Linked DNA regions of Homo sapiens: region 1 is linked to region 2. Evidence: promoter capture Hi-C in 16 types of primary human blood cells and fetal thymus (Javierre and others, 2016). All regions are on one chromosome and are shown on one strand. The core of a region is centred on a gene start or on the middle of the fragment in contact, and the rest is flanking DNA. Distances in the headings are between cores, read along the strand shown. Region 1 overlaps CABLES2 (Cdk5 and Abl enzyme substrate 2). Region 2 holds the start of ADRM1 (ADRM1 26S proteasome ubiquitin receptor).

Evidence for each region. The method cuts DNA at HindIII sites, captures the fragments that hold promoters and counts their contacts. A CHiCAGO score of 5 or more calls a contact.
Region 1: a contact is called between a fragment that was not itself captured here and the fragment with the promoter of ADRM1 in region 2, in 3 of 17 cell types (total B cells, endothelial precursors and naive B cells). The highest score is 6.7, in total B cells.

Annotation. Positions count from the first base shown.
Region 1 is chr20:62,391,841-62,395,521 of GRCh38, forward strand. CABLES2 (Cdk5 and Abl enzyme substrate 2) reads right to left here. Exons shown (of 10, transcript NM_031215.3): 4 at 3,097-3,174; 5 at 2,317-2,425; 6 at 1,600-1,765; 7 at 1,080-1,183; 8 at 549-655. Among named protein-coding and RNA genes, the nearest start is that of RPS21, 6.6 kb to the left of the region's middle. RefSeq lists enhancers at 548-1,048, 1,049-1,549, 1,766-2,290. The HindIII fragment of the contact is 8,008 bases long and covers 1-3,681 here.
Region 2 is chr20:62,300,669-62,304,484 of GRCh38, forward strand. ADRM1 (ADRM1 26S proteasome ubiquitin receptor) reads left to right here and starts at 2,329. Exons shown (of 10, transcript NM_007002.4): 1 at 2,329-2,381; 2 at 2,900-3,113; 3 at 3,793-3,816. The coding sequence starts at 2,901. RefSeq lists silencers at 1,839-1,958, 1,979-2,438. The HindIII fragment of the contact is 19,122 bases long and covers 1-3,816 here.

The sequences.
Region 1 (3,681 bases), core at 565-3,064, 91 kb after region 2:
GGCAGAGGCCGGCAGGGCAGGCCCCCAGTACAGGGCCGTGGCCAGGAGCCCGACGTGAGCCCAGCAGTTCCGCCGCCTTCTGCTCGCTTTCCTCCGGTCATGGGTCATCAGCGTGGCACAATGTGAGAGCAGAGGCACACCTGGACGGCCTTGGCGAGCACCCAGCATGCCTGGATGGGGGCGCTTTGTGGGCCAGGGGAAGGGCCACGGAATCTACTCACAAAATAGCACACACTGGGAGGGGCCGGGCACAACAGAGGCCTTGTCCCACTCAAGTTTTAAAAAGATCCTGGGCTGCTGCGAGGGTCTGGCTGTGAGAGACCCAGTGGTGTGTGGGGGGATGCAGTGTGATGGGGCCACGGGGGGCCTGGCTTGGCGGGCGGTGGAGGTGGGGGAGCTGCTGCTGGGGGCCTGGTCGGATGGCGAGAGGGGGTTGGGGATGGGCAGCGGCTAGACTTGTCAAGCTGGAGAGAATCTACCAGAAACTGGAGAGGAGAGGCTGGCAGGGCCTCCCAGGACGATGAGATGGTCTGAGAGGGTGTCCTCACCTCCTGATTTTGCTCAGCGTCAGTTTGACATGGGGGAACTTCTCCCTGAAGGTCTCGTTCATGTCCTTTTTGAGGTCTGAGGGCTTCACGTATTCTATCACTGTGGTCTGCAACAGAGAGTGGGCAGGGTTGGGCCGGCCCCTCGCACAGTCCATGGGTCCTGCCTGCTGGGTACGATGGATTTCTCACTGTCCTGGGTTTGCAAACATGCATACGGTGTGGCTTGAGAGGCCCCGAATCTCTGAGAACAAAATGGCTCAAGAGAGAGAACTCCAGAGCCCATGCCTGCTTGGTGTGGGGAGAGCCAGGTTGCCAGGTGCCGAGGGCGGAAGGGCAAGGGTGGACCCCAGCTGGAGTGGCCAGCACTGCTCCCTGGCCTGCCCTGCACACCGCCACTGTCTGTGCTGCTGCGATCCGGGATGGGGGCACGTCACGCCCCTGGGGCAGCTTTGCCCACAGCCTGCCCCACACGCCCCGAGCCAGGACAGGTGTGCAGCTGCCTGCACCCAGGCCCTGGGAGAGGGCACTCACCATGTACGACGCAAAGATGAGGACACGTTTGTGCTTGCCGCAGGGCCACTGCGGGTCATCCAGGAGGTTGGGGTTGTACTCCAGGGTGTCCCCCACGTCACTCCCTGTAAGAGAGGCAACCCCTGACCCACCAGGAGTCTTGAGCAGTACCCATCTAGCCCCAAGGCCTGGCAGGCCAGCGCCATGGCGGGGCAAGGCCGAGCAGGGGAGGGGCTCTAGGCCATGGTTCTCTCCTGAAGGGCCCAGGGCTTAGGGCAAGAAAAGGATGTCCTGAGAGGAGGGGCCCTCCCTGGAGTCATCTGTGGGTGGATGCAGCTCCTCCCCACTGCCTGGCTCAGGCCAAGCCCAGGGATAGCGATTCAGTGTGGAGCTGTTCCTCTCCTGACCCTGTTCCCCAGGCTCCATCTGCACGGAGGGCTACAGATTGAAAGGGGCTTGCTGATGCTGCTGCAGTCCCTGGGCCGTGGTTAAGGCACGCGGGTCACCCTGTTCCAGGCCGTGGTTAAGGCACGTGGGCTACCTAGTTCTGTGCTGGCTGGTGCCGACTTGGTGGGGGCAGGTTTATGTCTTGACCCTGGCAGAGTCCGGGGGACACTGGGCCGAGGTGTGGGCAGCAGGCCATGGCTGTCACTCTTGTGTGTGACCAGGGCGTTGGTGGGATACAGGAACTTCGCATAAGACACGACCTGGAAAAGCAAATGCATCTGGCCTCAGCTCTGCCTCCCGGGACCAGAGGGCAAAGTGAGCTCCCGCTGCAGGAAGCCCAGACGCACATGCCAGGAGCCCTGCATGGAAAATGAAGGGAACAACTCAGATCAAGCCGTTGAGGCTGCGTCTGAGCTAGACGCTGCTCCTCACATAGCTAGAACATTCCGGAACACTACTGTGCTTTATCTGGGTTCTGTAGCCTGTAACGTTCTCCCTGCCTCTGAAGACTGCTGACCACCAGCACAGAGGCCAGAGGGTTGGCGAGCCCCACCCTGCAGCAGGGGGGTGTCCAGGAGCACCTGGCTGTGGGGCAGTGGCGCAGACCTCAGGCACGGCCAGGCGGGGGAGTCCGACGGGCTCCAGGGCCACGTTCTCAGGGCTGCACGGGCCCGCATCCACTCCACCCTTGCGTTTTACGTGGAGTGAAGCACAGCTTCACGTGTGCCTCGTGGGCACTGACGTGGGACTGCTCCCACCCGCCTGCCTGGCCCTGACGGCGCTGGGTGTCCACCAGCGAAGAGGCTCTTACCTTCCCGTCTGCTCCTAGCTCCACACCTTCTAGCTCAAAGACCATCTCGGAAGACACAGAGACGCCGCCGGACGGGTGCCTCTGCTTCTGGCTGTCCACCCTCAGGTCACTGCAAACATGGGAGAGGCAAGGGGCTGTGGTCTGCGCTGAACTCAGGCTCTGGCAGCCCAGCCCACCTGTCCGCTGGCCCGAGGTGCTCTCGGGAACAATGTCAGCACAGCCCCTCGGGAAAGAAAGGCGGCACTGGTGTGACCAGGAAGGCGCACGTCAGGAGTGCTTTCATGGAAGGAGGGGTTTTTGAGCCCCGCTTCCCCAGTACAGACACTGGCTGGTAGAGCCCCCGGGGTGGCGCCCACCTTCACTAGCCCACTAGGTACATGTGCCCACGCCTGGTCAGGTTTCTCCACCACTGTTTTTAAGCCAGGGCCACACATAATCCCCACCCCATAGCTGTTTCCTCCTTCCCTGAATTACGCACGGATACGACTGCCTGGATGGTCACAGCACCAAGTGGCTCTGTCCACAGGAGGTGGGACAGCCCAGCCACCTGTACATCGACAGCGTGAACAGAAACCGGCTCCTCTGGAGAGTGAGGACCCGAAACGGCCCCGGGTTCCTGAGGAGCTTTGCTGGAGGTTGACATGCTGAGCCTCGCATGAGCCCGGGGGCAGCCGCACCTGGGGGCGCAGTGCCCGCTGATGCCTCCTGGGCCTGGCCGAGACCAGGCCTTGCCTTCTGCCTAGATGGACACCGCATGCGAGGCAAGCGCTGAGTACTCACCTGATCCGCAGGCCTTCCCCATAGGGCAGGACCGAGAAGGCCGCGCACAGGGACCGCTTGGCACAGATGAGCACGATCCTGCAGGGGGACGGAGTCAGGGGAGACGGGGCCGGGGAGCGGGGCTCAAGGTACTGCTGCTTCCAGAGCTACAGACATTTCCATGGAAAATTCCTTCTGCCTAAATTCAGGTGCTGGGAAACTGCCCATGCTGTCCAAGGGGACTTGAGCCCAGGAGGCCGGGTGGCCACCGTCACTAAGCCTGGCCCCCGCAAGCTCTCAGAGTGGATTCCCTACAGGAGCTACCGGGGTTCCCCTCCCTGGGACGCCGCTGCACGTGGGCAGGCACAGCAGTGACATCCCGAAGGCTCCTTCCTGACCCAGTGCGGGTAGGGCTGGCGGCCTCACCTCAGGATCTTGGCTCATTCAGAGATGAGAGGCAGCCAGAGGGGACAGGATGGCGAGGCCAAGGGCTGCCTCGAGCCAGACCTCAGAGGTCCTGGGTGGAGCGGGGCTCAACACCACCAGAAAGGGCCTGATCCAGGTCCACAGAGAGGCTGGCCTGGAGGCTCCCTTCCAAGGCGCTCG
Region 2 (3,816 bases), core at 1,079-3,578:
TTGAGCCATCCCAGGCCACAGGGCCTCCAGGAAGTGGAGGAAATGGTAAATCCAGGGTCCTCTTGGCCACTGCGTTGGCCTCTGCACACTTGGCCCCTGCGGACCCTGGGGCTTCTGCTTTACTGTCTGTGACATAAACAAGTGACGCTTGCCACCTTCTTGCCGGGAAAGCCAGGCTGGGTTTTCTCATTTCCACCTTTTCCCTGTTTTACACGAGGGCACGAGGATGGGGCTGCAGTATCAGTGACGCACCTGTCACCAGCGGGCCACAGAGCTTTGTGTTAGCCCCTCTCAAGCCCTTTAGCTTCTGGAACCGTTTAAATTCTTAAAAATTATACAGGACCCCAAAGAGCTTTTGTTTATGTGAGCTTTATCTATTGACATTTACCATACTAGGAATTAAGAGGACATTTAAAATTATTTAGCTACATAAAAATAACAATAACAAACTTACTACCTGTTAACACACATTTTAAAATGAAAAGTGGCTACATTTTCCAAAACAAAAAACGTGAATCTTTAGCTCAATCAATGTTTCAAATGGAAGCATTATGACAGTCAAAAGCTGGCAACTAAACATAACTGGCACAAGCTCTGCCACCGAGACAATGGAGGCCTGAGTAGTAGGCTCCCTGCAGAATGAAAGGACTGGAGCTGCCAGCATCAACACCAACGCATCTCCCAACAAGGGTGAGTGAAAACACACACCTAAAGACCTCAGAGAGCACGTAAGCACACAGCTGTGCATCCACTCTGAGGGTGAGCCACCAAGCACACGGTGACCCCGGGGAGCGCCCGAAGGGAGTGAAGTATCTGAAGGAAAGAAGGAAGTGAGCGATGGGCAAAGGAGAACCTGAGGACCCTGGCACAGTCTCAGCTGCAAACATCTAGTCTTGCTTAACTGGGGTGCAGAGGCCACTGCACCTCAGGGTTCTCACGAAGCGCCTGACCTCTCTATTTTATTACTATTATTATTATTATTTTTTTTTTTTGAGAAGGAGTCTTCCTCTGTCGCCCAGGCTGGAGTGCAGTGGTGCAATCTCGGCTCACTGCAACCTCCACCTCCCGGGTTCAGGCGATTCTCGTGCATCAGCCTCCTGAGTAGATGGAATTACAGGCATGTGCCAGCATACCTGGCTAATTTTTGCATTTTTAGTAGAGTCGGGGTTTCATTCACCATGTTGCCCAGGCTGGTCTTGAACTCCTGGCCTCAAGTAATCCGCCCGCCTCGGCCTCCCAAAGTTCTGGGTTTACAGGCGTGAGCCACCGCGCCTGAGCCCTCTAAGAGCCCCCGCCTGGCGTCGCTGTAGGCAAATCCCAAAGAACGTGTCCCTTCAGCAGCCGGCTGGGGCGCCACAAACACTATCTGTTGTCTTCGCTTTAGTTTGTGTCAAAGTGACTCAAAGTTACACAACACTGGCGGGCGACTGCCGCCTTTTTACCCTGTGGCCTTTCCCATCCAGGCGTCCAGAGGGTGAGCCCCTGCCCTCCAGGACCCCTCCCTTCCAGGACCCTACCCGTCTGGGACTCAGGCCTTCCCTGACTCCTCCCTCCCGGACTCACCCCTCCCAGATCCCTCCCCTCCGGGACCCTCTCCCCTCCCGGGCCCCCTCCCCTCCGGGAACCCCTCCCCTCCCGGACTCACCCCTCCCAGATCCCTCCCCTCCAGGAGCCCCTCCCCTCTCGGGACCCCTCTCCTCCCGGACCCACCCCTTCCTGACCCCTGCCCTCCCGGACCCCTGCGGGACTAGATGTATACAGCTGAGACCATATCACGGTTCTCACCCTCGCTCTACCCTCCCGGACCCCTGCTCTCCCGGACGCGTGGACTCCAGCTCCCGCCTGGGTCCCCAAAGCGCTGAACCCATGGTCACTTCTATGCGTAGCCCTGGTGCCCGCCGCCCACAGCCGGACCGCACTCCTCGGCCTCCGCCTAACCCCTGGCTCAGCCACACGAGTGACAGCTCTGCCCGCCCGGGCGGGCGACGCCGAGGGGTGGGCTCGGCCCCACCTGAGCAGTTCCCCAGCGCCCCTCTGAAACCCGCCTGTGGTCCCTGGCGCCGCCTCTAGGGGCCGCCGCCGCTCCCCTATGACACAGCAACAATAGGGGCCGCTCTGGTCCAAGCGCCCTGCGGCCCGCGCTTCCGCCGGAAAAGAGCCGCCGGCGCGGGGGCGGACCGGGGAGGAGCGAGTGCGATGGACGGTCGCCCTCGCCAATCGTTGGCAGGTTAGAGCCGGCTGCGCGGCTTACGGGGCTCAATCGGCGGCGAGAGCGGCAGGCGGGGCGGGCCGAACGCGGGTTTCCGGCGGGGCCCGGCAGGCGCCGAGGAGGAAGAGCGAGCCCGGACGGCGCCTCTCGAACGAGTGTGGGCGCGAGGCAGGTGCGGGAGTCGCCGGGCCTGGGGCGGCCGGGGGCGACCGGAGGCGGGGGCAGGGGCTGCTGGACCAAGGATGGGGCGGGGGCAGCCAAGACGAGAAGGTGGCCGGCGCGGCGGGTGGGGCCTGCGGGGGCCGGGCCGGGCGGGGGTTCTGGGGTCTCGGGCGCCGCCCCGGTTCCGCCTGCGGCTCTGAACGTGGGGCTCGGCGGGAGCTCGGGCGGGTCTGCCCCGCGGAGCGGGTCGCCGGGGTGGCGCGTCGAGGCTGGTGCCCCGCGGAGACGGCGTCAAGCCTAGGGCCGGCCCCACTAGGCTTGGCGGGGCTGCCCCGGCCCAGCGCCGAGTGCGGGCGGTGCGATCGTCGTGAGCGGGGCAAACGCGGAAAGGCAGCCCGGCGTGTCTGAGTCTGCCTTAGGCAGCTCTGGGCGCAGGCCCCCTGCTCGCAAACACCCCAGGGGGCGGGAGCTTGCCGGACCGCAGGCGACAGTGACCGCCGCGTCTCAGCGTCCTCTCCGCGCTTTCAGGATGACGACCTCAGGCGCGCTCTTTCCAAGCCTGGTGCCAGGCTCTCGGGGCGCCTCCAACAAGTACTTGGTGGAGTTTCGGGCGGGAAAGATGTCCCTGAAGGGGACCACCGTGACTCCGGATAAGCGGAAAGGGCTGGTGTACATTCAGCAGACGGACGACTCGCTTATTCACTTCTGCTGGAAGGACAGGACGTCCGGGAACGTGGAAGACGTGAGTGTCCCTGAGCCGCAGCAGCAGGACAGGCGACTTCTCGGGCCCTCGGAGTCCTCGCTTTGGAGTTCGCGGTGGGGGCTTGGCCGCATCTGGGGACCGCTCGTGGGGCCGTCATCGACTGCCCTGCTGATGGGTCGTCCTGGTTTCCGCGGTGACAGGGGCATCTCGGCCACTGTGTATCTTGAACTGTCCGTGTGAGGTGCCTGGGTTGGAGGTGTGGCCCTGGAGAGCCCGGAGCTCTGTGCCTGGCCTTGAACTGTCCGTGTGAGGTGCCTGGGGTTGGAGGTGTGGCCCTGGAGAGCCTGGAGCTCTGTGCCTGGCGGCTTCACTCAGTCTTCTTTGTTTTTCAAACTCTTAGTTGTTCTTTGTTACATTTGAGAGCAGTTCAGCGTTGACTTTTTAACTACTCTGGGAATGTTGTTTCCAGCACGTCTCAGAAACCCCGTTGCCATCTGAAAGGCCCCTTTCCCTGCTCTCTCCCCCGGCCTTGCCTTTCATGGGCTGTCTCTGACCCTGGCTTCTCTGCCTTGTGGAGACCCTGCCAGCGAGGGGTCTGGCGGCTTAGCTGCCCCTTGCGCACCCCACCCGGTTAGACCCAGGGCTCAGTACGCTCTCCTGAGACTGGGCACAGTGATGCCATCTGCGCCACTGACTCTCTCTTCCCCTGGCTTGCCAGGACTTGATCATCTTCCCTGACGAC